7 separate regions of the Homo sapiens genome follow, and all the other regions are linked to region 1. Evidence: promoter capture Hi-C in 16 types of primary human blood cells and fetal thymus (Javierre and others, 2016). All regions are on one chromosome and are shown on one strand. The core of a region is centred on a gene start or on the middle of the fragment in contact, and the rest is flanking DNA. Distances in the headings are between cores, read along the strand shown.

Region 1 (2,902 bases), core at 131-2,630:
CGGGTTCAAGCAATTCTCCTGCCTCAGCCTCCCGAGTAGCTGGGATTACAGGCGCCCATCACCAAGCCCGGCTATTTTTTTTTTTTTTTTTTGTATTTTTAGTAGAAACGGGGTTTCACCATGTTGGCCAGGCTGGTCTCGAACTCCTGACTTCAGGTGATCTGCCCATCTCGGGCTCCCAAAGTGCTGAGATTACAGGCATGAGCCACCATGCCCAGTCTCTTCTCTACTTTTCTTGCAGTAACAGAATTGTTCAATCTGAATATCCAAGGTGAGACTGTATTCATATATAATCTGGGTAAATGACTGGCAAAATGGCAGGGAAGGAGGAGCTAAGGATGACTCTCCTGGAACCCTTCCTCAACTCCCCACTGCTGCCGCCTCTCCCTTGGCCCTGGGGCACCAAATCCAACCTTTGTCCTGGGCCTCACCTTGGCATAGTAGACGTGGTTGGAGCAACGGTAGTGAGTGAACTGGCAGAAAGACTCAAACCAGGAGGCATAAGGGAGGTTGGAGCAGACAGCACCTGAGAAAGGGCAGGGGTGGAGAAGATGAACCCGTGGGGAGCTTGGGGTGGGGCTGTGGGCAATGGACTCCACGCCATGGGGAGGGTGGAGAGTACGAGCTCATGGTGTGGTGCCAGCCATGCCCTTCCCCGCCTCACATGAGCACAGGGGTTTTTGCCCTGAGGTTTGGGTGAACACTCTGGGTGCCTCGGTTTCCCCCCTAGTCTGGCCCTCACCATCGGGCACTAAGCCGTGGTTTTCATATTGGTCCAGCTGGACGAGTGTGGGATTCCGGCAGCCGTGGGTTGCACGGAGACGGCAGGTAGTCTCTGCCTTCCAGGTTGGAGTCAGCAGTGCGAAGAAGCGTTCGTATTCGGTAGGAGAGAGAGGGCTGCCTGGAGTGGAGGCCTGAGTCGAATCCTGGGCTGCGGCAGGTGCCAGAGGCAGGAGCAGCACTGCGGAGCGGGCGAACGGATGATGGAAGGACCGAACCCCAAAACCCGCTCCGAGACCAGGACAGACAGACCCAGACTGGCAAATTAGGAACGGGGTGAGGGTTATCCCTGCTGACCAGGGCGGGGGGAGTCTAGAGACAGAGGCAAAGGTCCGGCCGCGGGCGGGGGGAGATGGGAGTATCCCAGGACCTAGGGAGCCGACCCAGCGCGACCACCATGAGGAAGCGATCCAGAAACCGTAAAAGCAGAGCTCTCGGGAGGGAGAGGACTAGCCCGGGGAGAGTCTGTTGGAGCAGGTGTAAACCTCTCACCCTTCAGGAGTGAGGGAAGGAAGCCAGCGGCTGGCTTCCTCATGGCCGGAGAAGATCCGCCCGCGTCCCGTGGACACAAGCCGCCTCTAACGGGCCAAGCCGCAGAGAGAGCCGCAGGCGCGGGGCGGGGCGCACGCGGGCACCGCCCACGCGTCACAAAGAGCGGGCCGGGGCGGGGCCTCGACAGCCGGGCTCTCAGGGCCCTAAAGTGGCCAGAGCCCATCCAGATGGTAGGAATGGCAAACAGCTACCTTCACTTAGCGTCTTTTTCTTTTTTTTTTGAGACGGAGTCCTACTCTGTCGCCCAGGCTGGAGTGCAGTGGTGCGATCTCGGCTCACTACAACCTCGGCGTCCCAGGTTCAAGTGATTCTCCTGCCTCAGCCTCCCGAGTAGCTGGGACTATAGGTGCACGCCACCACGCCCAGCTAATTTTTGTATTTTTAGTAGAGATGGTATTTCACCATGCTGGCCAGATGGTCTCGATCTCTTGACCTTGTGATCCGCCCACCTCGGCCTCCCAAAGTGCTGGGATTACAGGCGTGAGCCACCATGCCCGGCCTAATTTTTGTATTTTTAGTAGAGACTGGGTTTCACCATGTTGGCCAGGCTGGTCTTGAACTCCTGACTTCAAATGATCTGCCCACCTCGGCCTCCCAAAGTGCTGGGATTACAGGTGTGAGCCACCGTAGCCAGCCACTTAGCATCTTTACATGCACTACCTTACGTAATTGCCATAGGAATCCCATAAGGTAGATACACTATCATTCGTTTTACAGATGAGAAATCGGGGCTTAGGGAAGCAACTCGCCCAACAAACAGGTCGTGAGGTCTAGAGCTAAGCGCAGGCAGAGATAGAATGTGCAAAACCAAGTCAAGGCCTATCTGGGTAGGAACTAGACAGGGCGCCTCCATGAGCAAAATGGGTCCAAGGGGAAAACAAGAGGGTGGCTCAGTGGTCTACGAAAGTGGTTTCCAAGGGAGAATCGAGTAAGACAGTCCACTGAGGTATGGGAGGAGAACTTTTGCTTTTGTATCTGTTTTGTGTTTAAAATGAGAAATTCCAGCCTGGGCAACAGGGCGAAACCTCGTCTCTACAAAAAGTACAAAAAATTAGCCAAGCGTGGTGGCACGTGCCTGTAGTCCCAGTTTCTTGGGGGGCTGAGATGGGAGGATCGCTTGAGCCCATGAGGCCAAGGCTGCAGTGAGGTGCAATCGGGCCACTGCTCTCCAGCCTGGGTGACAAAGTGAGACCCTGTCCCCACCCAAAAGCAAAAGTAAAAAAGAAAAATAAAACAAGAAATTGTCTTGGGCCAGACTTGGTGGCTCACGCCTGTAATCCCAGCATTTGGGAAGTCAAGGCGGGTGGATTCCTTGAGCCCAGGAGTTCCAGACCAGCCTGGGCAACATGGCGAAACCCTGTCTCTACAAAAAATACAAAAATTGTCAGGTGTGGTGGTGTGCGCCTGTTGTCCCACTTACTACTTGGGGAGGCTGAGGTAGGAGGATCACCTGAGTCTTCAGAGGTCAAGGCTGCAGTGAGCTGAGATCTCACCACTGTGCTCCAGCCTGGGTGACAAAGTGAGACCCTGTCTCAAAAATAAAATAAAATAAAATAAATTAATAAAATAG
Region 2 (2,902 bases), core at 247-2,746, 470 kb after region 1:
GTAACAGGGCTTCTGGAAGTGGTAGCAGATCTGGGCCTGGTGGGCATTCTGCTTCTCCTGGGTGGCAGCAGAAGTCCCTAGGTGGCAGGCTGGGGACTGCCCAAAGGTTCTGACTCAGGAAGAGCACAGTGGAACAGAAAGCCCTTGTACCACCTTCGCTGCTGTATTCGTCCATTCTCACACTGCTGTACAGAACTACCTGAGACTGGGGAATTCATGAAGAGAAGAAGTTTAATTGACTCACAGTTCTGCGGGCTTAACAGGAAGCATGACTGGGAGGCCTCAGGAAGCTTATAATCATGGCAGAAGGCGAAGGGGAAGCAAGGACCTTCTTCACATGGCAGCAGGAGAAAGAGAAGAAGGGAGAAGTCTACACACTTTTAAACAACCAGATCTCATGAGAATTCCATCGGGAGACAGCACTAGGGGGATGGCACTAAACCATTAGAAACTGCCCCCATGATCCAATCACCTCTCACCAGGCCCCTCCTCCAACACGTGGGGATTACAATTCCACATGAGATTTGGTTGGGGACATAGAGCCAAATCCTATCAGCTGGTATCCTCCTTTTTCCAGGCTTTAGATATGGCACAACCTGATGGCTTCTGCATAAAGCCTCCTCTCATCTGCATCTCTCCACCTCACTCACCCTCTTTTCAGCAAAGAACCCTCTGGCTCTAGTTTCACTGTGGTGGTCCTGGGAGAGGTAGAGAAGACCCAGAGGCTCCTTACCCTGGGAGGTCAAACTGACCATCCAGGTTTGGCTCTTCCCTGCTGGTGTGTCTAGAACACCATCTTCCCCTTATTGCTGTGGACTTCAGGGCTCTGCTGCTCTGTCCTCCACAGAACTTGTCAATCAGCTTCCTACCAGCTAAGATCTGGTGCTGTCTGATATATCCTCCCTGCGGCTTGTCACTCATGCTGTCTAATGGCGTGAGGTGCATTGAGTTGTATTCTGATGTCTTTGTCCTTTTGAAGCCACAGAGTAAGGTCACACAACTTTGAAACGAGCAGGGTACCATCTGAAGATGCTGGACATTCCTTTTAACAATTACCTAGGGGAGAGGCAGTCCTCAGACAGGACTCAGGTGGGTGGGCCTCAAAGAGGAAGGGAAAGGGGGCAGCTGCCTGCCTCTGAACTTCACTCTCTAGACTCGTGGAAGGGTCTAGCTTAGAGCTAGGATGGGAGGGCTGTGAGCACTGAGGATGGAGTCATGCCTTTTTGTGACTGGACACATTTTTACTGCCCGAAGTCATCTACTGCCCCCACCCCCCAACCCCATTCTTCTGCCCACTTAGCGAATATTGAGGTTATGGTCAGGATGGGGTCATTTGCAATGAAATTCAAGGTTGAGACTATGTTGCAGTTATCTGTCTGCTTGTAAAAAGTCACCCCCACATTTTGTTTAAAACAGCAAGTATGTACTATTTCACACAGTTTCTGTGGGTCAGGAATCCAGAAGCGGCTGAGATGGGTAGTTTAGGATCAGGGTCTCTCACAAGGCTTTGGTCCAGGTGCAGGCTGCAGTCCTCCAGAGGCGGGACTGGGGCTGGAGGTCTGCTTCCAGACGGTCACTCACATGGATGTGGGCAGGCGGCCTCAGTTCCCTGCCACATGGCCCTCCTCATAGGACGCTTGAGTGTCCTCGCGGCATAGCAGCTGGCTTTCCCCAGAGTGACCCAAGGTGGAAAGAACAAGGCAGAGGTGACAGTGTCTTTTATAAGCCAGCCTTGGAAGTGACGTAGCATCATTTCTGCCTTATTCCATTGGTCACACAGACAACCCGATGTGGAAGGAGACATCACAAGGACAGGAATACTGGGAAGCAGGTATTGTTGGTGGCTGTCTCGGACGCTGGTTCTCATAGAAGTAGATGTATTATTTTAGTACAATAAGTGCAGACGATCAGCTAGCAGGATGTTATTTTTGCTGGGTATGGTTGTATTTCAGGTGCATTTACCCAAATCCAGAGTACCTTTGGGGGCTCTGACCCTCTCCTCCTCCACCTTGAGATCTGTAGAGGCCTCTCGTTCATCCCACCAAGAGCAGGACTGGACAGATGAAAGCATGGCTTACAGGAGGCCAACACAATAGGAGGTAGGGCTTTGGGAAGACAGCATAGGTTTCAAAAGAACCAAGAAGCTGTTGAAAAGGAGAGCAGATGGGCAGGGAAGACAAGTCCCAGATAGAATGCCCTTTGCAACCTAGGGGGAGCTGACCACAGTGTGCATCCTGACACTCGAAGACAAGGTCTCCATCAGCAGATTGCCCAACAGAACAAGTTCAGAGCCCAGAGATCCCAGTTCCAGATCTCAGATCTCCCACACCCTGTGGGCTCTGTGTGGACTTTCGTCCTGAAACAAAGTCCTTTAGTAAAGGACTCTTTAAATTCACTCCATCTGTGCTTTGCTTGCCAATAGCAGGGTGCGTCTGTTACATACTGGACTATCCCTTCCTTCAATATGTTCATGGCTGAGGCTGCATTTGTGCCTCAGATAATCAAGGTGAGTATAACTCTCTGTTCTGTTTCCCTTTTGTTTCCTCCAAGACTTTAATAAACCCTCATTCAAGAGGCCCACCTTGTCCCACCTGTGCTTCTCAGAAAAGAAGGAGTGGTGGGGAGACAGGCTGGGGTGGGGGCTTTGCCACCTGGCTGCCCCTTCACCTGTGGGTTCTTGCTCCAATGAGGACCCAGCAGGATAAGCTTTAGTTTCATTAAGGGTGACAATAGTTTCCTTACAGCTGGGTCAAGGATATGAGCGAGCCTCTTCCGAAAACAGCCGGGAAGGGAGAGGAATCCAAGAGGAGGAGCAGGTGGGAAAGACAAGACAGAAGGTGGATCGGGACCAGGCCTGGGAGGGAGCACAGGCACACAGAAGTGAAAGAATTCGCCTGAGGTT
Region 3 (2,902 bases), core at 227-2,726, 420 kb after region 1:
CCACCTCGGCCTCCCAAAGTGCTGGGATTATAGGTGTGAGCCACTGCACTCAGCCTGAAGATAAAATTATCTTTTCTCCTGACCCTTATTTTCTTCTTATTTTATGTGACATTTAATGCCTCTTTTATTTGTATCTCCCACTTCCCAATTTTACCTCTTCCCTTTAGTTCTTTCCCTCTTCTGATTTCATCATTTTGTTCAGTTTGTTGCAGGAGATCGGCAATTTGGTCCTTACTGTGGTCATGGATTCCCTGGGCCTCTAAATATTGAAACCAAGAGTAATGCTCTTGATATCATCTTCCAAACTGATCTAACAGGGCAAAAAAAGGGCTGGAAACTTCGCTATCATGGAGATCGTGAGTAACTTAGAAGTGCCTCTTTGGTTGGTGATACCAAAGTCCCCAAACAATGTGGGATCAAAGCAGGTAGATGATCCAGGCACACTGGAAGCACCTGTGATCTCAGCTACCGAGGGAGGCTGAGGCAGGAGGATCCCTTGAGCCCAGGAAGTAGGAGTTTGAGTCCACTCTGGGCAACAGAGCAAAACCTTGTCTCTAAAACAAAACAAAAACAAAGCAACAATAATTTAAAAAACAGATAGATTGTTGTTCTGATAGAATCCTGAGATACTTCACTTCTTCAGGAAAATCTAAACCAGTCAACGGTTGCTAGAAATGCCTCAACCTCTAGTAATCCTTTAACTAGACCTGAGACTGCAGACAGCTTGCGGGTGGTTAGTTGGTAATGCCATATGATTTTAGACATCTGCTGTATTGGAATGTTAAGCATCAGGATTGAGGACAACTGGACGATTTTAGAAAGTGTGAGAATGATGTAAATAGAATGAGAGTCTTCAACTATTTAGTAATTTTTTCCTCCTGTCCCAACTTCTGTTCTTTCAAGCAATGCCCTGCCCTAAGGAAGACACTCCCAATTCTGTTTGGGAGCCTGCGAAGGCAAAATATGTCTTTAGAGATGTGGTGCAGATAACCTGTCTGGATGGGTTTGAAGTTGTGGAGGTAAAGTACCACCTTGGCTTCTCCCCAGTCCCTGGCCCCAGATCAGGATGAGCGGACTGAAATTGTCCAGTTGTTTACCCAATGTATGTGTGTGATCAAGGTATAACACCTTTCCCATAAACACAACAGCTTAAGATCTGTAGTTCTCCCTTGTGAGTCATGGAGCTGCCTGGCCAGCTTGGCATTCTCTCTGCCTTCAGTCTTCTTGAGGAAGGGGAGTTGACACGTTGGGGCAAAGCTTTCTGTCAGCCTCATCTCCTGGGTGCTTTAGGTCTGCTAAGATGTTCCCAAGCTTCTTGTGGTGAGGACTCCTCATTGATCCAAGGCCAGAGATCAATTCCAGTTTTGATTTTGGTTTCCCATATCTCTCTTCAGAAATAAGTGGTGATGTTTATTATTCTCCAGGGACGTGTTGGTGCAACATCTTTCTATTCGACTTGTCAAAGCAATGGAAAGTGGAGTAATTCCAAACTGAAATGTCAACGTATGTGTCTCTTCAAAGTGGAAGTCTTTCTTTTTCTCTCAGAGAGAATGGAAAGATCAGCACATCAAAATTCAAATGCATGGTTTCCTCTTAGGCATGTGAGGGAGTGGGTTGGGTTTTTGAAGGGAAGCCAGTCATGGAAGCTTTTCTAGTCCCAGCCCCGCATCTGGTCCCAGGCCAACTAGATCGGCATGTTTCTTTCCAAGAAAGGGGCTATGGGATAGGTCGAGTTAGTAGCCCCACGTGGGTGCATTTGTGGCTTCCACTGGGCCTTCACCAACCACTGAGAACCAGGCTCTTCACTACGGCTTTCATGGGGCCATCTGAATTGGCATCTCAGCGGGTGAGAGAGCTGAGAGATGCCAGTTGGGGAGGATGGCCACAGAGAGGCTGGTGTGGGGAGGTTCATCCCAGGTGTGCCTGTGGATATGGGGTGGGGAAGCAGTGAGGATGAACCTGGCCCCATGACTCTTCCTTGGAGGAAGTGGCTGTCCTGACCATCGCTCTCCTTCCTTCGTCTGGTAGCTGTGGACTGTGGCATTCCTGAATCCATTGAGAATGGTAAAGTTGAAGACCCAGAGAGCACTTTGTTTGGTTCTGTCATCCGCTACACTTGTGAGGAGCCATATTACTACATGGAAAATGGAGGAGGTGGTAGGTTTCTTCTACTGGAGAAGAGAGAGAGAGAGTGAGAAGGTGTTGGAGGGTGGATAGCATAATCTGTGCCAGAGACAGAGTTTGGAGACAAATGAAGGCGATAGGACAGACATTGTTCATCCCCTTGGCTTCGTCCAAAGATACAGTTTTCATCTGGAGCAGGGCAAGTTCAGGGGAGCATCAGCCTCAGGGAATCATAGAGGTCACCAACTGAGTTCACAGCTGCAGCAGGAATTCCCCTACAACATCCATTTCATGGGATTACCCACCTTTTGACCAGTTATTTCATGTAAAACCCACAGGAGCAATGCCTTCAGCTTTAAGCCACCAAACTACACTGACTGGCTTTCTTGATGTAGAGGCTTTGGTCATGCTAGGTGCAGGGCTGAATGAGACCCTAATACGTTCTCTGCATTGCTCTGTATTTATTTCGCCACTTTCCCGATGCCTTCTTTCCTTCTGCTTTGGAGATGTTCCCTTTGTCTCCCTGGCAGGCTAGAGGCCTGAGGGATTGTTTGGAGGAAGATATTTTTTTTCTGGCTGATTTAATCTGATTTACTACTTGAATCCTAGACGAGCTGAGGTTCTGAAGGAACGGGGCAGGGTGTTGGGGTCGGAGGGGGGAATGGAAGAAGGAAGATGTGGTGGTGAGTGTGGCCTGTGTTCTCTGTGCTATTCCAGGGGAGTATCACTGTGCTGGTAACGGGAGCTGGGTGAATGAGGTGCTGGGCCCGGAGCTGCC
Region 4 (2,902 bases), core at 177-2,676, 390 kb after region 1:
TCACCGTGTTAGCCAGGATGGTCTTGATCTCCTGACCTCGTGATCTGCCTGCCTCGGCCTCCCAAAGTGCTGGGATTACAGGCGTTGAGCCACCGCACCTGGCTTCTCTGTTTGGTTTTCTATAACATTATTCTTTTTTTTTTATAGAGACAGTGTCTCATTATGTTGCTCAGGTTGGTCTTGAATTCCTGGTCTCAAGCCATCCTCCTGCCTCAGCCTCCCAAAGTGCTGGGATTACAGGCGTGACCCACTGCACCTGGCCAGCATTCTTTTTTTTTTTTTTAAACTGTTGAACACTCTGTAATTATTAGGTAAAATTAATAGTACTTCACAATTATATATATCACTTTACAGTTTACAAAGTTACTAAGTAGACATTTGTTTTGATGCCCCAAAATAAAATTTAACTTCTTTGTCCTCCCTTCTCCCCTCCATCAAGGAAAGACTAAGGAACATTTAATCAGAAAAGGCAATATAAGTGCATCAATCTGTACAGAACTGCAAAGAATAAAGGGGAGGAGGGTAGGACCCTGAAGAGGGCCACAGGGACTTCAGGAAGGAGAAAACCAGAGTGTTAAACGTGAGGAAAGCCCAGGGGTGACAGGGAGTTAACCACCATAAGGGGCAGGTTGTATTCACTACATAAAAGGAGGGGCACACGGCATATGTTTCACATTCTAAAATAATATGACAATATCATAACTGAAGAGCTGAAGTTGAATTTTGTGGTTTCTCAGAACACAAGTAGAAGATGACCACCAACCATGGTTTCTGAATAAACTGAGTTCAAAGTGCATCTGGTTGCAGCAGGGGGCTTCCTTGGACTCTGATACTAGAAATTTAACAAAGGTAATTCGAGGAGCTGCGATTTTACATAGTGGTGGCATCCTAGGGGGCATCTATCGCATCAGTTAAGTTTAATATCTGGCAATCATGGAAAAGGAGTTTCTGAGCAGGTAATACTTGGGCCATCTCTTGGAGATTCCTGCTGTAAGGACTAAGTTTCTCCAGAGAAAGCACTTGCCTGGGTATGACTCAGGGCCGGGCAAAAATTCACACTATGAATCTGGTGGAAGGGGGAGAAGTATGCCTGGTGGGACCACATTCCCATAATTCTCTAACCTCACATCTCTGTAGAGTTCCCTCTGAACAAGGTCCAGGTATCTCCATTCCTCTTGAGTAAGGTGCACAGCCACATCCTCAGATGTCACAAACTGCTGATACCTGGCTGTCAGGAGCGCAGCTGCCTGATCTCCTGGGCTGTCCTCATGGGGAAAGGCAGGCACCTGGGGAACAGGTGGAACCCTAGTGAGTCCCTGTTCCATGTCGGTGTCCTGCACAAAATGAGGCTTTGGAGTCAGACTCTCAGACTGGGTCTCCAAAAACTGAAATCGGACCCTTGGTGAGCCTGCTGCTTCCTGGGCTGGTATTTTCTCCATCCCTGTTCTGGAGGACAATGACCGTCGCAGCTTGCATCAGGACATGGCCACTGGGTCCTGATGGCGAGGCCCGCCCTCGGTCTGTGGGGTGAACTGGGGCTGAAGAGAAATAGGCCTTTGCACCCAAGCATCTGCACACTCTTGGGGAAGGAAACCACTGTCCCATATTCTTTACATTATCCTTGTCATTTAGGATCTCCAGGATTGGCTTCAGTGTTAATGATTCTTTGTCATTATTTTCCTGTAAGAGTGCCCTTTTATCTAAAGATTTCAGTTCATTTATTTGACAGAAATCTTCAACCATATATATAAAAATATATAAATATATATATATACTTTTTTTTGGTGACAGAGTCTCATTCTGTCACCCAGGCTGGAGTGCAGTGGCGTGATCTCAGCTCACTGCAACCTCCGCCTCCCAAGTTCAAGCGATTCTCCTGTCTCAGCCTCTGGAGTAGCTGGGATTACAGGTGTGCACCACCACACCTGGCTAATTTTTGTATTTTTAGTAGAGATGGGGTTTCACCATGTTGGCCAGGCTGATCTTGAACTCCTGACCTCAGGTAATCTGCCTGCTTTGGCCTCCCAAAGAGCTGGGATTACAGGCGTGAGCCACCATGCCCATACTCAACCATATCTTTGAATACTTTCCCATTCCAGTTGTTATATTCTTTTCTCAAAACACCAATCATGTATCTCCTTGATCCATTTTCATCAGCGTCTCTGCGATTTTATCCCTTTGCACTTTTCCATTTTGTTTTGGGTGATTTTTTTCAAGACTGGCCTCCATGTACTATCTATGTTTTCATAGTATGTATTTGACTTCTTGCTGTTTCTATAATGAACTTTTCATTTTTGTGGTGGCTTTCCTGTTATTTCCAATTTCTCAGTTAAGTTCTACCACATCACTTTTTTCTCTCTAAAAATATGCATCTGTTATTCTCCCTTGTATCTTTTTTTTGAAAAAGTCCATGCTTTAACTTTTGTGAGTATAGAAAAAATATGTCTGACATCTTTCTTCTGCTTGCTGGAATAACTTTCTAAAAATAGACTTTATTTTTATAGGGCAGTTTTAGATTTACAGAAAAATTGAGCGTATAGTACAGAGAATTCCCATACAGCTCCTACACGGTTTCCCCATTATTAATGTCTACATTAGGGTGGAACATTTGTTACAATCATGGAAGTGATGTTGATACATTACTATTAACTAATGTCCATAATTTATTCAGATTCCCTTAGTTTTTACCTAATGTCGTTTTCCTGTTCCAGGGCCTCCTCCAGAATACCACATTACGTTTAGTTTTCATGTCTCCTAGGCTCCTCCTGGCTGTTACACTTTCTCAGACCTTCCTTGATTATGATGACCTCGAAGTTTTGAGGAGTACTGGGAAAGAGTATTATAGGATGCCCCCTACTGGAATTTGTCAGATGTTTTTCTCATGATTATACAGGGATTATGG
Region 5 (2,902 bases), core at 108-2,607, 370 kb after region 1:
TTTTCATCTAGCTTACCTTTGGTCTCTTTATATTGTGATTCCAGTGCTACCTGAAGAAAGCTTTCTGCACTGAATAATGGATTTTTTTCTGAAGGGCCAGACCTGACTTTGGTCCAAAGGGAACTAAACTGCAGGACCTCCTTTGATTTTAAAGGTCGCTAACTTTAGTGATGCTAATTCTGAACCTCTGAGGGATGAATTGTTACCCCCAGCTGCAATTTTTGATCAGTCTAACAGCCAAGCCACCATCATGGCCAAGACTAGGGAACACTCACAGTAAGCAGGGTGGCCATCTGCTCCATTTGGCCAGCTCTAGCTTTGGACACTGAGAGGTGGCTCATATACTGATTGCATCTTGGTTTAACCACTGAGAGTGAAAAGAGAAAAGGACACCAAGGGCATTTATCTTTTCCAGCCCCACATGCTCCTCCCAATCTCAGCGGTAAAGAGCAGGAACTCTGGAGTCAGGCAGAACTCAGTGTGACTTACTCAATCTTTGTAGGGCTGACTTTCCTATCTGTACCAGGAGATCTTAACAGCACTATAATTACCTCACGGGTAACTGGCAGGTTTAGGTGGGGAACTGCCTGTTGACCATTTAGGACAATGTCTGGTACACAGAAAATCCTTAATAAATGCCAGCTATTACTATTATCAAGGGGTAGCAACATTAACATACCCAATCAACGTGAATAAGATCCTCTTCTCTGTATAACCTTTTCCATGGCATTTCATTCCCTCCCTGAGTCAGTTATGATACCAATACTGTCTCCTAAAACTCTGTCTTTAGCCCAGCTTCTTTCCTGAGCTCAAGACCAGGCTTCACAACTCCCAAGATACCTGGAAGTGCCCTTGGAACCTAAAGTGAACCCCAAACCAGATCATTTCCTGGCACTTAAGAGTATCTGATCCTCCACTTGATCTCTGGCATTGGTCAAAGATACCCTTATCTTTCCAGCTACTCAGGCAGGAGGATGGAGTCTTTTTAAAATTACGACTTTATCCTCCAGCTAATAAGTTGCCAAGTCATTCATTCATACATTCACCTATTCAAGTATTTATCGAGCCTTTTCTACAAGCCAAGTAATGTGTTAAACTCTGGGTACACTGTGGTAAACAAAACTTCCATGGTTTCTGTCCTCATCTACAAATATATAATTACAAAGTGTAATATATACTTGGAAGGAAATTCCGGTCAGTATGAGAAAGTGTAACAGGGGACATAATTGAACATGAGAGTCAGGAAAGAACTCAGAGGAAGATGAAAAGGAGTTTGTCAGGTGACTGAAGGGCACTCCAGGCAGCAGGTAAGCGTGTGCAAAGGCTCTGAGGTAGGGAAGCCTTCATGCCTTTCCTGAGGAACTGAACAAAGGCCATGTGGCTAAAAGGTTGTCAGCTTGCTTGGGACGAGGCTGGGGCAGCAGGCAGGGGCTTACCAGCCAGGTATGGAAGCCCCTGAAGGGTTCTGAGCAGGAGAGGCACAGGATCGGATCACTCTGGCTGCTTTTGGAGAGTGGACTGAGGGGGCAAGAACAGAATTAGAGACTAGTCAGGAGGCTACTTGGGTGGTGCTGGTGACAGATGGTTAGTGGCTGTGGTGATGGAGAATAGTAGATGGATCTGAGACACAATCCAGAGGTTGTATTGATAGGATTGGGTGACTGGGATGTGGGGAGTGAGTGAAGAAAGGCAACAAAGCTGATTCTTGGGTTTCAGGCATGAGCAGCTGTGTAGATGACTGTGTCTACAGAATCTACCTTTCAAAAGGTTCCGGTATTCCTAGACCATCTCACAGGAGATGCCCACTTTCTCCTCTCAGCACAGCCACCCTGCCTCCAAGTCATTATAACTTCCTCTCTAGATCACTTCTTTCTCCTTAGTTTCCCTACTACTTGTCTATGCTGACTTCAAATCACCCCAGGCTGTATTATCTTTTTAAATACAGCTCCAGCCATATTATTCCCCACTCAAAAATCTCCAATGTTCCCTATCACCTACGTGAGTACTAACTCTTTACCTTGGCTTTAAAGGCTCTTTAACCTACAGTTCCAGCCTGATTTTCCATCACTTCTTTAAAGTCCTGTTTTAGTCACACTAGACTACTGACTGTTCCTTGGCTGTGTTGCCACATTCACACCTCAGTGCCTCTGCTCATGCTATTCCTTAAGTCTTACCATCTCAGCATGCTGAAACCTTACTCATCTTTAAATGAAATGTCCCATCTTTAAATCTCACAAAGCTCTGTACCTCTCTTATGGTGCTTAAAATTTATTGGGGTTATTAGTATACTTATCTCAGGCCCATTTCCTATACCCTAACAGACCATAATACCTTTGAGTGCAGGGCTCCTGACTCATACTACACCCACTGCTCCTGCCCTTGCAGGGTTAAGAATACTGCTTTACCTGTAGTAGGTGCATGTTACTGAATTTATATGAGCAATTCATGGTATTAGTTACATTAAGGAGTGATGAGATCCAAGCTGTTGAAGGGGAGATGTTTTCTGGTAGTATTTGCCAGCACCAGGGCTCATGGCAAAATTCCTCTTCAGCATCCTTCCATCAAACTCCTTGCAAGCATACACCACACAAACATAAACACACTCCTTTTACAGTCTTCTGACTGCTCAAAATACTCCAGTGCAGCAGTCCACATAAGCTTACTTTTTCTTTGAAGTATTGAATATTAAAAATTGCAGCCTCGGCTGGGCGCGGTGGCTCATGCCTGTAATTTCACGCCTGTAATTCCAGCACTTTGGGAGGCCGAGGCAGGTGGATCACGACGTCAGTAGATTGAGACCATCCTAGCCAACATGGTGAAACCCCGTCTCTACTAAAAACACAAAAATTAGCCGGGTATGATGGCGTGCACCATAGTCCTAGCTACTCAGGAGGCTGAGGAG
Region 6 (2,902 bases), core at 403-2,902, 330 kb after region 1:
TGGGCTCAAGTGATCCTTCCACCTCGGCCTCCTAAAGTGTTGGGATCACAGGCATAAGCCACCACACCTGGCTACTTTGTCTTGATTCCATCTGTACCTTTGCTCATGCCAGTCTTTCTTTTTTCTTTTTTTTGAGACAGGGTCTTGCTGGAGTGCAGTGGTACAGTCTTGGCTCACTGCAATCTCTGTCTCCTGGGCTCAAGCCATCCTCCCACCTTAGCCTCCCAAGTAGCTAGGACTACAGGCATGTGCCACCATGCCCAGCTAATTTTTGTATTTTTAGTAGAGATGGGGTTTCGCCATGTTGCCCAGGCTGGTCTTGAACTCCTGACCTTAAGTGATTTGCCTGCCTTGGCCTCCCAGAGTGCTGGGATTACAGCCGTGAGCCACTGCATCTGCCCCCATGCCCGTCTTAAAACTGGGAATAACCCCTCTTCCTTTTACTTCTGAGAGTTTTCTTTGATTAAACTGCCTCCTGCATCATTAGTTTTCACATTTCTTTTTTTTGAGATGGAGTCTCGCTCTGTTGCCCGGGCTGGAGTGCAGTGGCGCTGCAAGCTCCGCCTCCTGGGTTCATGCCATTCTCCTGCCTCTGCCTCCCAAGTAGCTGGGACTACAGGCGCCTGCCACCATGCCCGGCTAATTTTTTATATTTTTAGTAGAGATGGGGTTTCACCGTGTTAGCCACGATGGTCTCAATCTCCTGACCTTGTGATCTGCCCGCCTCGGCCTCCCAAAGTGCTGGGATTACAGGCGTGAGCCACCACGCCCGGCCTTCACATTTCTTGTTCAGATTTGCAGCTCTTCACTTAGTGCATGTTTGGTGTACGCAAACTGAGGGTGGTGACTCGATATTTTGCACAGTACCTACTTACTGCTCCTGTAATAAACACAGCATTCAGCCTTGCTAACTACTAACTCCTGCCTAGTTCCAGGATGTCTCATTGGCCTTGCCTAACAGCCACAGGTTTTTTAATTAAATCCAGTGTATTAGTAGATAATGTGAAGTCACAGGTTGTGCCCTTCCTCCTGTTTCCCTCTCAGACCATTCACTGGGGAGTGCAAATAAGGCTGCACAGTAATCCCCCGAAGGGCTTGCTGGGCTCCACCCCCAGTGTTCCTGGTTTAGTAGGTCTAGGGTGGGCCTGAGAATTTGCCTAACAAGTTTCCAGGTGCAGCTGCTGCTGGTAGTTTGGGGACCACACTTGAAGAACCACGGGGCTAGGTAACAGAAGCTTATGCTGTTCTCTCGTCATGTTCCCTGTTCTTCAGGTAGGGAAGACATATGAGCTACTCAACTGTGACAAGCACAAGTCTATATTGTTGAAGAATGGACGGGACCCTGGGGAAGCGCGGCCAGATATCACCCACCAGGTAACTCCAGGGACAGTGCTCACAACCCTTTGAGCCTCTGTATGGAAGGGTTGGCAGCTGAGTGCTGCCTCTCTTCAGCCTTAACCATGTCTCGGTTTCTGCTTTGCTCAGAGTTTGCTGATGCTGATGGATAGTCCCCTGAACCGAGCTGGCTTGCTACAGGTTTATATCCATACACAGAAGAATGTTCTGATTGAAGTGAATCCCCAGACCCGAATTCCCAGAACCTTTGACCGCTTTTGTGGCCTCATGGGTAAGAAGCCTTAGAACAAAGTTAGAATGAACTTGTCAGTAGGGAAGAAGGGAGGAAGAGGAAAAGGGAGAACTAAATGTGGATTTTTAAGCGAGAAAATGGGAGAACAACATGATTAATACCAGGACAAGGACTGTTATTATTTTTCTATGTTTGTGGAAACTCCACTCCTGTTCTTGCAGTAGCTTCCTGGCTGAGTGAAAGAGGGAGTCTGAACCCATCACTGTACAGCTAGCCATATGCTTGGCAACTGTTTGTTCCTAACATTTCAGGAGTCCAGTCTAGATATAAAGCACACAGGGAACTCATCTTATCCATGGGGTTTTCCTTGTTCGATGACTGGACAGAAGGACTGTGGTCTCCATCTAGCTCTGAACTCTTTTTTCCCCCTTCTAGTTCAACTTTTACACAAGCTCAGTGTTCGAGCAGCTGATGGCCCCCAGAAGCTTTTGAAGGTGAGGTATTGAAACCTGTTAGTTGAAGGCTGGTTCTGGGAATGTTTCTGGGGCTGACTTTTCTCTCTTTTTTACTTTAGGTAATTAAGAATCCAGTATCAGATCACTTTCCAGTTGGATGTATGAAAGTTGGCACTTCTTTTTCCATCCCGGTTGTCAGTGATGTGCGTGAGCTGGTGCCCAGCAGTGATCCTATTGTTTTTGTGGTAGGGGCCTTTGCCCATGGCAAGGTAAGGTCTGGGCTCAACCCTGAAATTCTTGGTAGAGCTGAACTTAGTATAGAATTCCCAGAGCAGTAGGCATTTTAACAATGCTTACAATGAGCTAGAAGACACATGACAGTTCCACACCCTGCCCCAGGGCACATCCTTTGAGGGCTGCTGCCATAATTGGAAGTCACAGTTAGGACCTTCTTCATCCTTTGTAGGGATTTGATATTCAACAGCACAGCTGAAATACTAGCTCAGCCATAGTTTTCCTGCCCTAAAGAAGGGCTGAAACAGCTACTGAGTGACAGAGTTGGCTGACAAAACTGTTCTTTTCTTAGGTCAGTGTGGAGTATACAGAGAAGATGGTGTCCATCAGTAACTACCCCCTTTCTGCTGCCCTCACCTGTGCAAAACTTACCACAGCCTTTGAGGAAGTATGGGGGGTCATTTGACAGTAGTAGAACCTGTTCTGAAACCAGAAACTGTTGATGTCACATCCTTTGACCCTGGTCTGAGCTGACTGCTGGAAGATGATCTTTCTGCACTGAGACTGTGGAGTTTGGGGAAGCCAAGGCTGTACATTTGCTATTTGTTTATCCTATGAATACTGT
Region 7 (2,902 bases), core at 116-2,615, 280 kb after region 1:
GCCCAGCCCGTCCGCAGCCCCGCGCCGGGTCGGGGCCTCGGGCCGGGCCATTTCGGAGGGACCGCGGCTTCGGGGAGGGGCTAGGAGGGGGGAGAGGGAGCCGACTGCCGGGGAAGGGGCGGGGGCCGCGGGCGAGGCGGCCGAGGGGCCCGGGATCGCGCGGGTGCGGGCTGCGCTAGGCGGGCGCGGGCGGCGGCGGGTCGGAACCGCGCCGAGGGCCGGGCGGGCCGCGGGGCCGGGCGGCGCGGCGGGGGCGGGCGGCGCGGCCCGGGGCATTCCGGGCGGCCAGGGGGAGGCGGCGAGCCCGGGGAGGTGGGGAGCAGAGCGGGGATCGGGGTTTGCTCCGGGGGCCGGCGGGCGATTGGGGCCAGGCGGGGAAAAGGGGGGATGGGGGCCGCCCTCCGGGGGGGTCGGGGCCGCCGCCGCCGTCGTCGCGGCGGCGACTGAGGCCGAGAAGAGGAGAGGGGGGCGGGGGAGCTGCCGCCGCCGCCCCCCAGAGGCGCCGGAGCCCGGAATCCCGCTCGGAGCCAGCCAGCCGTCCCGAGCTACCAGCAGGTAAGGTCTGCGGCCGCCTGGGCCCCGGGCCCGCGGGGTTCTGTCCCGCCCGGGCTCCGGCCTGCGGCTCCCCACCCCCACCCCTCCCAGTTCCCCCTCCTGCCGCCGCCGCCTCCATTTGTTATTTTCCCAATCCCGTCCCCCCACTGCGGGCTCTGCCTGGCCTGAGGGCCGGGGGCTCAGGGGGTGGGGCCCGCCGAGGAGAGTCGGGGGCCAGGGTTTCGGGAGGATCGGGAAGGTGGGGAAGGAGGGAGGGTCTCCGGAGGAGGCCTGTGGGGCCAGAGGGTATCCGGGACCCGCAGACTCAAAAGAGGAGGAACATCGAGGCCGGGGTTGGCGGAGGAAAACGGGGGATGCTGTGAGTGGGGTTCCGGGCGAAGGCAGAATGGATAGGAGAGATGGCAGCGAGGTGGGGCATGAAGCCTCCAGGAAAAAGCTCCAAAGGACCAGAACACGGGTTCCGGAGCCTGGGGTTGGGGGCTTTAGGAATAGACGGGAAGTGGGAAACGGGAAAGGGGTGTGGTAGGTGGAAAGAGGGATTGTGGCTGATGAACCTGGGGGAGACGGAGGCTTGGGCAAAGAGAGGTCCATTTTTGAGAAGAGCCGGAGGTTTTCCAGCGTGGAAGAGGGAAGGCCATGTCTTTGTGACGGTTTTCATTCCCCTACTGCAGGTCACCTCTGACCCTGTTTTCCCTATCCCAGACATAGTTATTTCTTGGAGAGGGCACTGGGGCCCAGTAGTGTGGGTTATCCCAAAACTAGTGAGGAGGAAAACAGGAACACAGAAGGGGGAGTTGGGAAGAAAGGGGTTCTGGGAGGATGGAAATGGAGAATTGAGCAACCTTACAGGCACTCCAGGCAAGTTGCGACCTCCACCCTCCACCCTCCAATTTCCGGAGCGTCCGCTGCCCCTGGAGCTGTGATCTATATAGGGAGGCCTTAGTTACTGCTTTGAGCTCAAAGATCTCCCTTTGTGCATGGGCTTATTTTGACTAGGGTAGGTACCTTCAAGCTCCCTTACCTGAGGTGCTATAGGAGGGTAGGAGTTGCTTTGGCAACTGGGGTAGGGGGTAGCTGCCAGATGGACACCTGGGATGGTCTCTTGAGGGGCACCTTTTGCCACTGTGTTGCTATGGTAGTGATCCAGTGGGATGTCAGATTGGTTGGGGGGGCTTCGAATGTTTATTGGACCTCAGCCTGTGGCTGTCCTTGGGACTCTGGGCTGGGTTTTGGAGGTTGTTTCTGGATCTGTTGGTGGTTGGGAGTTTCCCCACGGTGTGCACCCTTTCATGTTGAAGTCTGTTGGAACAGGTAGATACGTTCCTTGCAGATCATAGGTGTTTCTCCAAGTCTCTCCACCTGGGCATGATGGGAGGATGAAAACGCTTCTGTTCAGGTTACACCATCTTTTGGCAGTTGGTTCTGACCTCTACCTCCCTTATTATGTTATTTTTTGTAGAGTTGTCTTTTTGCTTCTTTGCACTTTCTTTCATTTTCTAAAACTTGAATTCCTCTTTGAGCCTCCCTTCTTGAGTAACCCTTTTCCTCTTTCCCTCAACTAACCTTTGGCCTTCTTCCCTGACCTTGTAGAAATGGCTGGGCTCCCAGGCCCATCCCAGGTGAGGGTGGCCCAGGACAGAGGGCTGTGAAACAGCTTCATGCAGGGGAAATACTATAGAACAGGAGCCAGGAGACCTGTGTCTAGACCTGGCTGTGCCTCTGTGACCTTGGGCAAGTCACTTCTCTTTGAGCCTGGGCTTCATTGTTAAGATGAAGGGGCTATAGATGAGATGATCTCTGAGGCCTCTCTGAAGGTCCCGGATTCTCAGAAGGCTTAGGCCAGTGCATCGTTATCTGCTGGTCTGGGCTGCATTGTTATCTAGGAGTCACTTTGGACTGGTTTGTTAGTCTGGCAGGTCCAGAATGATGTTGGGGGCTGGGCCAATGATCCTGAAATTTAGCCTGCGAGCCCCTCCCAGAGAGCTTGTGACTCCACTGTATTCCTTCTGACATCCCATATTTCTCTCTTAATTTCTTTTCCTGTTCTTACTTAGGGGCTCTTTTTCTAGTTCTCACTTTCCTCCCAACCCAGTCTGGTCTTAATCATTTTCTTTTTAAAGTAAGGTAATGGCAGTGCGCAGTGGCTCACGCCTGTAATCCCAGCACTTTGGGAGGCTGAGGCGGGCGGATCACGAGGTCAGGCGATTGAGACCATCCTGGCTAACACGGTGAAACCCCGTCTCTAGTAAAAATACAAAAAAATTAGCCGGGCGTGGTGGCGGGCGCCTGTAGTCCCAGCTACTCAGGAGGCTGAGGCAGGAGAATGGCGTGAACCCGGGAGGTGGAG

The links. Contacts are between HindIII fragments. The CHiCAGO score rates a contact against its expected background, and 5 or more counts as called.
Region 2: a fragment that was not itself captured here is called in contact with the fragment with the promoter of ACRBP in region 1 in 10 of 17 cell types (activated CD4 T cells, non-activated CD4 T cells, total CD4 T cells and 7 more); the score reaches 12.9 in activated CD4 T cells.
Region 3: a contact is called between a fragment that was not itself captured here and the fragment with the promoter of ACRBP in region 1, in 4 of 17 cell types (non-activated CD4 T cells, activated CD4 T cells, total B cells and 1 more). The highest score is 6.4, in non-activated CD4 T cells.
Region 4: a contact is called between a fragment that was not itself captured here and the fragment with the promoter of ACRBP in region 1, in 1 of 17 cell types (activated CD4 T cells). The highest score is 6.0, in activated CD4 T cells.
Region 5: a fragment that was not itself captured here is called in contact with the fragment with the promoter of ACRBP in region 1 in 5 of 17 cell types (activated CD4 T cells, non-activated CD4 T cells, total CD4 T cells and 2 more); the score reaches 13.1 in activated CD4 T cells.
Region 6: a contact is called between a fragment that was not itself captured here and the fragment with the promoter of ACRBP in region 1, in 10 of 17 cell types (non-activated CD4 T cells, activated CD4 T cells, total CD4 T cells and 7 more). The highest score is 20.5, in non-activated CD4 T cells.
Region 7: a contact is called between a fragment that was not itself captured here and the fragment with the promoter of ACRBP in region 1, in 9 of 17 cell types (non-activated CD4 T cells, naive B cells, activated CD4 T cells and 6 more). The highest score is 11.2, in non-activated CD4 T cells.

Annotation. Positions count from the first base shown.
Region 1 is chr12:6,646,052-6,648,953 of GRCh38, forward strand. It overlaps ACRBP (acrosin binding protein), which reads right to left and starts at 1,381. Exons shown (of 10, transcript NM_032489.3): 1 at 1,273-1,381; 2 at 743-961; 3 at 432-526. The coding sequence starts at 1,315. RefSeq lists enhancers at 802-1,315, 1,239-1,308. The HindIII fragment of the contact is 16,958 bases long and covers 1-2,902 here.
Region 2 is chr12:7,115,523-7,118,424 of GRCh38, forward strand. C1RL-AS1 (C1RL antisense RNA 1) reads left to right here. Exons shown (of 12, transcript NR_026947.1): 8 at 1-2,902. It also overlaps a transcript of RBP5 not described here. Among named protein-coding and RNA genes, the nearest start is that of C1RL, 7.8 kb to the left of the region's middle. The HindIII fragment of the contact is 2,416 bases long and covers 289-2,704 here.
Region 3 is chr12:7,065,615-7,068,516 of GRCh38, forward strand. C1S (complement C1s) reads left to right here. Exons shown (of 12, transcript NM_001734.5): 7 at 203-356; 8 at 904-1,019; 9 at 1,425-1,503; 10 at 2,029-2,157; 11 at 2,842-2,902. Among named protein-coding and RNA genes, the nearest start is that of C1S, 6.3 kb to the left of the region's middle. The HindIII fragment of the contact is 335 bases long and covers 1,310-1,644 here.
Region 4 is chr12:7,040,203-7,043,104 of GRCh38, forward strand. It overlaps the pseudogene LOC100419825. Among named protein-coding and RNA genes, the nearest start is that of C1S, 19 kb to the right of the region's middle. The HindIII fragment of the contact is 6,449 bases long and covers 1-2,902 here.
Region 5 is chr12:7,011,899-7,014,800 of GRCh38, forward strand. The region is part of intron 1 of LPCAT3 (lysophosphatidylcholine acyltransferase 3); the gene reads right to left. Among named protein-coding and RNA genes, the nearest start is that of LPCAT3, 5.1 kb to the right of the region's middle. The HindIII fragment of the contact is 2,598 bases long and covers 59-2,656 here.
Region 6 is chr12:6,973,067-6,975,968 of GRCh38, forward strand. EMG1 (EMG1 N1-specific pseudouridine methyltransferase) reads left to right here. Exons shown (of 6, transcript NM_006331.8): 2 at 1,273-1,374; 3 at 1,486-1,627; 4 at 2,024-2,082; 5 at 2,163-2,312; 6 at 2,630-2,902. The coding sequence ends at 2,743. Among named protein-coding and RNA genes, the nearest start is that of EMG1, 3.6 kb to the left of the region's middle. The HindIII fragment of the contact is 838 bases long and covers 1,234-2,071 here.
Region 7 is chr12:6,927,830-6,930,731 of GRCh38, forward strand. ATN1 (atrophin 1) reads left to right here and starts at 130. Exons shown (of 10, transcript NM_001940.4): 1 at 130-555. RefSeq lists a silencer at 1-128. The HindIII fragment of the contact is 3,716 bases long and covers 1-2,902 here.